Regions from separate parts of the Homo sapiens genome. Here all the other regions are linked to region 1. The links are contacts of gene promoters, found by promoter capture Hi-C in blood cells and fetal thymus (Javierre and others, 2016). All regions are on one chromosome and are shown on one strand. Each heading gives the region's core, a stretch centred on a gene start or on the middle of the fragment in contact. The rest is flanking DNA. Distances are from core to core; before and after follow the strand shown. Region 1 holds the start of OSBPL8 (oxysterol binding protein like 8). Region 2 overlaps E2F7 (E2F transcription factor 7). Region 3 overlaps NAP1L1 (nucleosome assembly protein 1 like 1).

Region 1 (2,700 bases), core at 54-2,553:
ATGCAGGAGACACTGTATTACTACTCAGACGTCATTTAAGTCTTCTAGCAGCAGAAAGGCAAAAACATCATTAAATTTTTTATTTAATGCATATATACTTACATTATCAGTTAAAGTTTACCCATCTGTTTACGTTGTCCAAGTTACCTATTATTTCAGAAAGCATTTAAATAAAATGAAATTAGGTTACGTTCTGCAACGCAGATGTGTCTCATAAAGAAGAGTGTTAAATGACTTTTGTGAATGGAAAATCTGCATATACTGTTGCTTCGCCTCAGCCAGTCTTGAGTGGGTGGTTCAATGAACCTAAAGCATGCTGCCTGTGAAGCTCCTTGGAACCTGATTCCACTCTTGAGAGAGGGCTTAGAAACAAACATTAAATTTAAAAGCACAGCAAAGGCTTGGCTTTCCTCCTACGTTACAAGAAGGCCGGGAGAACTGAGGCTTAGAGGAACAACACCGTGTCGCTTGGCTCTGCAAAGGCGGGTGCGGTCTGCGGTGCGCGGCACAGCCTTCTCTGGGGCTGTCACAGGAAAGAAGGAGCCTCGCCTTAACCGCACCGAGCGACAAAGCGCCAGCTCTCCTGGGCGCGGGGGCTCCCAACGAGGCCCATGCCATCAACCTATCAAACTTCAGGAGGGACAGACACCCGGGGCGGTCGAAATGCTCCAACAGCCTCCCACCCCCGTTCCCCTGCCGCGGCTTTTGTAAGGCTGCAGATGCACCTACTGTGGGCCCCTAAACACTCCACCCTGCCAGCCTTTCCAATCCCCCTACTCCAAAAGGGAACAAAGGAGCCAAAGAACTCCTCGGCGGGGGTGGCCAGGAGTCCCCGACAGCCCGAGCTCAGAACGTGGCAATAAGGGTGCGCAGTCGCCCTGAGGGGTGCGAACCCAGCACCCCAACCTCAGGAATGGAGCAACACTCACCCGTGCGGAGCTCCCAGGGAGGCGGGACGCAAGGAGCCGGTTCCTCCGAGGTCGCCGCGGCGCCGGGGTCCGAGGCCCCGTAAGCGTCTAGTCAGACCCCAACTTCTCTCGGCCGCTGTCGTCGGCGGCAGCTGGGGCGCGAGCCTGGACGAAGGGCGCTGCCCAGCGGCCGCGGAGGCACTGCCGGCTCAGCCCCCGAGCGGGGCGGGAACTTTCGGCCCCGAGGTCCACCAGCCCGGGCGGACCCCCACCTTCCCTCAGTCGGCTTGCTACCGGCAGCGGCTACTGCGGCGTCCAAAGCTAACACTACAGCCGCCGCCTGGCCAGGAGCGCGTCGCGGCCTAATGTTGTCATCCGCCGCGTCGCCGCCTTTCTGGGCACCCAGAACCGCGAAGATCCTTCACATTCTAGTGCCCTCCCCCTGCCCCGCCCGCCCCCCGGATCACGGGCTTCGGCCACGCCCTCTTCCCGTCACGTGACGGTGCGCGGAGGCGGTGGTGGAGTTGCTTCCCCTGCTAGGCGGGCTCGAACCGGGCGGGAGTCACTGTCCACCTTGCTTCGCCAGGGTGTTATCGCCAGCCAGTCCCCTTCCGCATGCCCAAGGGCAGCCTCAGGAAGCGAGCCCACCACCGTCGGCCCAGCGCCTGTTGATCGGCCAGGCCTTCTGGGCCGGTCATACTGGGCCCTTCCTAACCTGAGGAGATTGCACAGTAGGGCTCCCTGGTCTGGTCAGGGCTCAGTTAGGACCCCTCTCCAGCCTTAGGCTTGGTGAAAGCTTTAGCGAAACAGAAAAAAGAACGCATCGTGGTGTAGAGTGTATGGCCTAAGAAGCATTCGGTAACTAAACTACTTGTTCCTATTTCTAGTGGCACATTAACCGTGGCATTTAATTTACTGCTTTCCTCATTAGAGGTTTTTTTTTTTTTGAGGAAACGGTGTATTTCAATCATGCTGGGATGAAAACAGCCTAGCAAACTTATTTTTGTTCCTTGTTATGTTCAGGATCCTGCTGCCAGTTTTACAGTCATTAAGTTTTACAGTGTGTTAGGTTGGTGACAGTTTAAACGGGTACGCAGGAATTTGACAGTTTGTTCCATTTTTTAAAATAAAGCCTAATTCTTGATTTTTTTTCTAATGCCTTAATTTTTTTTTCCTAATTCCTTAACTCTAGGACTTAACCTTTTGCTTTCTTTTTTAGCCATGATCCGAAGAACCCTCTAGCCGCCTAATGAAATCCTAACTATACAGAAGTAAGGGAGGTAGAATAAAGATCATACTCAAACCCTGATCACAATGAAGGCAAATGAGAAAGCTTTCTGTAATAATTAAATTGGGGTCATAACTCATTTTCCCTTGTAGCCCAGAACTAAGGATTTTTTTCTTAAGCTATTCTCATCTCATTACATTTTCTTAACAAGAAATCAGAAGGCATTCTGATAAGCTGGATACATTGAAATGAATAAGCAATAGAGTTTGGCCTATATAATTATTATTAATATATTTCATAGCAGCTCTAAAAAAATCATAGACTTACATTGTTTTATGTTACCCAAGAAAGAAAACAAAGGCTGCCAATGAAACTATGCCATACCGCTGATATGTAAGGCACCTTTAAGCCACATCTTTTTCCTTTTTTTTTTGAGACAGGGTCTCACTCTGTCTCCCAGACTGGAGTGCAGAGGCGCAATCTCGGCCCACTGCAATTTCCGCCTCCCGGTTCAAGCGATTCTCCTCCCTTAGCCTCCCAAGGAGCTGAGATTACAGGCATGCG
Region 2 (2,700 bases), core at 2-2,501, 500 kb after region 1:
ATTTAGTTTTTAGAACCCCAATAAAACCAGGACAGGTACCACGACCCTCATTTTACAGGTGAGTAAATTGAGATGCAGAGATCCTGAGTGATATCCCCAACTCACCCAGCTAGTGATTTGAACCTAAGGCCTTAGACCAGCTCCTTGTGTGATCCACATCAAACATAAGACGGAAAGGAAGCCAAAGAACAGCCCAGACTTAAAAAAAGGAATTGTGAAATTCCTCTGGCTTCAAGCACATAGGAACTACTGTGTGATTTGTATTTAGTTACATGAAAGAATCTCTTACTACTACCGCTACTCTACCACTGCAAGATATATAACAGATTAAATTCATTCTGTTCTATGAATTTCAAGTTGTAATTCGAGACATCTTTTTTCTCTCTTCCCAATTTCTTCATTTTGGCAATTTTTATAGCTTGAAAAATCCGCCAAAAAGAGAAAAATGGTTAAGAATACTGAAATCTGCAAAACTTTTCTTAGGAAGTCTGAGAAAAAGCTTGATGGGAAGTGAAAATAATTACCTTTTTTTTTTTTTTTAACGAAGTATAGACATGCTGCTTATTCAACAGCACTGGTTCCCCACAGAACAGGTAATTTAAAGATGGCTTAACTTCAATAAAGCCCCAAACTAACCAACTGAACATATATAAGAATAATGGAATTTCCTAAATCAAAAATATTTACATTAACATTATCCCTAAAATCTGGGCAAAATTAAAATTCACAGCAGCATTTAAAGAATCCAAATTCCTTCATTAAATAAAAATGATTAAATATCATTACTTTAAAATAATTTATCATTTTTAAATGAGCCCTGGTCCAGGGAGTATCATACAGAAAAGAAAGCATTCATTATGAAAAATAAGATAGAATGAGAATTCTACTACAAATCAAAAGATATTCAGTTTGCCACTGCTTTTGGCTCAATAGGAGCTGAAAAGTTGACAGTTCTATGATTTTTTAATAATCAAGTAAAATTGTTTAAGTTCTAAAAAATCCCTGAGGAGCACAGTCTGTTTACCTGTAGAGAATCTGTAAATGCATCGTCCTTGTTTTCAATGGGTCGGAATAGTCCCTTTTTCTTCTCCCGGTCCCTTATATCTGGGCTGGCAGCACTAATGAGCATCTTCAGGTTAGCTGTGGGTGTCCATGGTTCCGCTTGCTGTCTGTCAACAAACTTAACTGGAGTAATGGGATTTCTTTCTGGAGTAAATTTTTTTTGCTTCGATAAATCAATTGGTTCATTTTTTATTGGAGTCTTCGGGGCCATCCTTGATCGATCAACAAATATATTTTCCTATTTTAAAAAAGAAACTTTTAGCAAGAATGAGAAAGGGCAGGTATCAGCTAAGAGTATACTTTGTTCCCACCATTCACTAAGACTTGAAAATACAAATAGGACCATATGTTTAGGGCTGAAAAGTATCAGGATAGGACTAACGAAAAGTAGTCATGGGAATAGAAGAGTGGCTCCAATGAGAAGTAGATTATACTCTGCTACTCCTTTTACACCTATCTTTCATGGTATCTCTGTAAAAGAAATCACAACGTATCTGTTACTGTTGCATGTTTATAACAGATGAGGACTATGAGGGCCAATGTGGGTTGAGTCCATATTGTTTCTAAGTGTCACCTTTTTTAAAACACTACTTACAAGTTTGCATTGACTAGTGAAGAGCAACAATGCTTCTGTAGTTCAATGTGCACCAGTGCTAATACAGCACTTAGTAGCAGGACCAGTTAATGGAAGAGCATCCAACAAAATCCCACATTTTAAGCCAACCTAGAGAGCTCTCTAACGTCATTCTCCAGAGCAGTGCATCTCAAACTACCCATGGTAAAGGACTCGTTTTTTTAGATTTCCAAACTCCTGCAAACTGATATGTGACCTTACTTCACAGGACTAATGTGCAACACAACTCCCACCAGATGTGATTTGCCATTTGAGTTTGTCACTCAAACTGACCCACAGCTTCTTCAACAAGAAGAGACCACTAATCATAAGCTTAGATATGGTGGCAATACTGAATTGCTACTGAGGTTTATTTTTCTTACTTTTTTTTTTTTTTTAAAAGATAGGGTCTCACTCTGTTGCCCAGCCTGAGTACAGTGGTGTGATCATAATTCACTATAGCCTCAAACTCCTGGGCACGTGCAATCTTCTCGCCTTAGCCTCCCAAGTAGCTGGGACCACAGACATGCACCACTACACCCAAATACTTATATTTTATTTTTTGGAGATAGGGTCTCACTCTGTAACCCAGGCTGGAGGGCAGTGGCATGATCACAGCTAACTGCAGCCTCAAACTCCTGGGTTCAAGTGATCTTCCCACCTCAGCCTCCCAAAGTGCTGGGATTTCCAGTGGTGTGCATACTACAGTGGTGTGCACACCACTGCACCCAGCTAATTTTTAAAATTTTGTGTGGAGACGGGGTCTTGCCATGTTGCCCAGGCTGGTCTTGAACTTCTGGCTTCAAGTGATTCTCCTGCCTCAGCCTCCCAAAGTGCTAGAATTACAGGCATGAGACACCAGGCCTGGCCTTTTTTAATTTTTTGTAGAGATCGGGGTCTCACTATGTTACCAAGGTTCATCTCAAACTCCTGGCTTCAAGTAATCATCCCATCTTGGCCTCTCAAAGTGCTAGGATTACAGGCATGAGCCACCACATCTAGACTACTGAGGTTTTTAAGTGCTT
Region 3 (2,870 bases), core at 307-2,806, 510 kb before region 1:
GAAACCTTATACATACATTGTTTGGCTGTAGAATTCTAAAATCATGTTTTCCAAAATGTTTTTATCCCAAATCACAGAATGATTATAGCAAAGGAATACATAAGTCATTCAATTTGCTTCTCAATGTGTTAACCACAGAGAATTATTTGCTCATTTGGTAAACATTACCTCATCCGCTTCTTCACCTTCTTCATCATACTGAAAAGGAAAAACAGCGTTAAGTGTTGAGTGAATGTAACACACATTTCAGAGTAGCATCAGTAACATTTATCACTGTATAAACTAGTGTCTAAAAAGAGAAAACCTACTTTCCTATCAAGGGGCTGATTATAAATTAAAACACATAGTAGCTGCAAGAATCACTCTGCTCACTGCCAATTTATAAAATTAAAGAACAGAGTACAATCATGTGGATAAAGTGGATGATCAGACAAGTATTACTGTAAATATTACTCACCTACACTTAAGTGTGGAATGCACTGTACGAAAAGGACCTAAAGCCTACTCTAACAATTGCCGTTGAGCAATAAACATATTCAAAACATCTATATGCAACCTAATCTTAACCTAACCATCATTCAATACTACCTTGAATAGAAATTCTATGCCTCCCAGTAAATGTTTTCTTGTGCACTAAAGAAAGTCCTAGCTCTGTGAAGTCAAGGCAAGGGCATAATAGATCTATAGCACTAACCAAACATAAAAAAGTTTCATAAACTCAGAACAATCTTATTAGCAGAAAATTAAAAGCTAAGATAAATGAATCCAAAAATCCTAAGGAGACATACTTAAAACCCAGAAAAGCTATATACAGAACATCAGTAATTAGCCTAATTTTGAATTATATTATGTCCTGCTTCTTAAAAACTAAACTAATCTATTACCAATTCTGACCACTATACCCTCAACCAATTATTTCTTTGCAGGATTCAAATTCGCTTACATCATCATCATCATCTTCAATAGCTTCTCCAGTAAAATATAACACTGATCTTGGGATTATACGCTCACGTAAAAAGTGACCAATTTCGAAGTCTGCAGCAAGGATAGCTTCAGCATCATCATCCTATTTTTAAAGGAAAACAAAAGCAGAAAATTTAGGAATAACTGTGTTACTTAATTTGGCACATGTAAGACTCTTAGAGGCTGGGTGTGATGGCTCACAACTGTAGTCCCAACACTTCAGGAGGCCAAAGTAGGAGGATCACTTGAGCCCAGAAGTTCAAGAGCAACCTAAGCAACATAGTGAGACGCCCCCTGCGTTTGTACAAAAAATAAACAATTAACTGGGCAGGGTGGCACACGCCTGTAGTCTCAGCTACTTGAGAGGCTGAGGTGGGAAGATTGCTGGAGCCCAGCAGCTTGAGGCTGAAATGAGCTGTGATCACACCAGTGTACTCTAGCCTGGGCAACCGAAAAAAAAAAAAAAAAAAGACAGACTCTTCAGTTTAAATTATATGATGAAGGGAAGAAATGCTCAACTTTACTTTTTACTTTCCATGATTTTTCTCACACCATGTTAACAAATGATTTGTCATTTTTAAATTTCCTTAATAACTTTTCCAAGTTTTTAACAAAAAGAAAATAAGCTAGCAGGCCAGTATGCATACTAAGATAAATTGTGAAGAATAAAAATTAGAACTGCTTAGTTTTTGCTGGTTTAAACATAAATACATAAAAGCAACTGTTACATGTCCGCAATTTTCCTTTTAAAATATTATTGAAAACACCAAATAGAAAAATAAAAAAAAAAACCCTTGGGTTATTGTTAATATATAGTTATTGTTAATATTGTTAAGTACATAGCAAATAGAAGGACATAATAAACAACCACAGAGGATCACTTTATAGTTCCTAAAAGACAGTACCCAAACAGCTGTACAGTTTTAAGTCTACTAATCCCAAATGAGACAGTCCTAGTTCAGAAAGACAATATACTAACTAAATCAGGTGCCCCTAGCACTTTTCTTTTTTAGAGACAGGGTCTCGCTATGTTGCCCAGGCTGGCCTCAAGTGATCCTTCCACCTCCGCCACCAGAGCAGCTGGGACTACAGGTGCCTGAAGCTGTACCTGGCTTAGGATTTCTATTTAATAGAAAAGCACAGGGCAAAAGTGGGTCTGACATTATTCACAATTAAAATAATCCCACTTTGGCCTGGCTCATGCCTGTAATCCCAGGACTTTGGGAGGCCAAGGCAGGCAGATTACCTGAGGTCAGGAGTTCAAGACCAGCCTGGCCAACATGGTGAAACCCCGTCTCTACTAAAAATACAAAAATTAGCGAGTTCAATGGCACGTGCCTGTAATCCCAGCTACTCGGGAGGCTGAGGCAGGAGAATTGCTTGAACCCGGGAGGCAGAGGTTGTGGTGAGTGGAGATCGCACCACTGCACTCCAGCCTGGATGACAGAGCAATACTTCATCTCAAAAAAAAAATAATAATAATAAAATAAAATAATCCCACTTCTATGATACTAAACAATGATACAAGTTCTATGATACTAAACAATGAGCACACCCTCTGTGAATTCCATGAATGTTTGAGTCAACAACATAATCTAATAAATAGAAAAATCCAAAAGGGGGTGGGGAGGAATTCAAACCACAGGTGGAGGTTTTCTATCCTTAACTAGACTGTTTTGTCATCATCAATATTTAGTAACAAACAAACAAACAAACAAAAAAAAACCCCAAACTTGAACACAAACTCCAACCCATCCACTGATATGAAAATAGTGTGATGCTCTATCTTAATACTTAAAGTAGTTTTTCTCACCTGAAATTCACACTGCTTTATGTTCTCTTTTTTTGTCCTATAAGCCAAGCCAGAAATACTTACTTTTGCCTTTTACAAATTTGTTCTAAGTCTT

The links. The method cuts DNA at HindIII sites, captures the fragments that hold promoters and counts their contacts. A CHiCAGO score of 5 or more calls a contact.
Region 2: a contact is called between a fragment that was not itself captured here and the fragment with the promoter of OSBPL8 in region 1, in 1 of 17 cell types (fetal thymus). The highest score is 6.9, in fetal thymus.
Region 3: a fragment that was not itself captured here is called in contact with the fragment with the promoter of OSBPL8 in region 1 in 2 of 17 cell types (naive CD8 T cells and total B cells); the score reaches 5.5 in naive CD8 T cells.

What each region holds. Positions count from the first base shown.
Region 1 is chr12:76,558,468-76,561,167 of GRCh38, forward strand. It overlaps OSBPL8 (oxysterol binding protein like 8), which reads right to left and starts at 1,304. Exons shown (of 24, transcript NM_020841.5): 1 at 930-1,304. LOC105369850 (a long non-coding RNA gene) reads left to right here and starts at 1,435. Exons shown (of 4, transcript NR_188081.1): 1 at 1,435-1,766. RefSeq lists an enhancer at 225-534 and a silencer at 945-1,134. The HindIII fragment of the contact is 3,809 bases long and covers 1-1,702 here.
Region 2 is chr12:77,054,831-77,057,530 of GRCh38, forward strand. It overlaps E2F7 (E2F transcription factor 7), which reads right to left. Exons shown (of 13, transcript NM_203394.3): 3 at 1,025-1,300. Among named protein-coding and RNA genes, the nearest start is that of E2F7, 9.4 kb to the right of the region's middle. The HindIII fragment of the contact is 1,509 bases long and covers 498-2,006 here.
Region 3 is chr12:76,049,588-76,052,457 of GRCh38, forward strand. It overlaps NAP1L1 (nucleosome assembly protein 1 like 1), which reads right to left. Exons shown (of 15, transcript NM_004537.7): 12 at 944-1,066; 13 at 169-198. Among named protein-coding and RNA genes, the nearest start is that of PHLDA1-DT, 19 kb to the left of the region's middle. The HindIII fragment of the contact is 3,492 bases long and covers 1-2,870 here.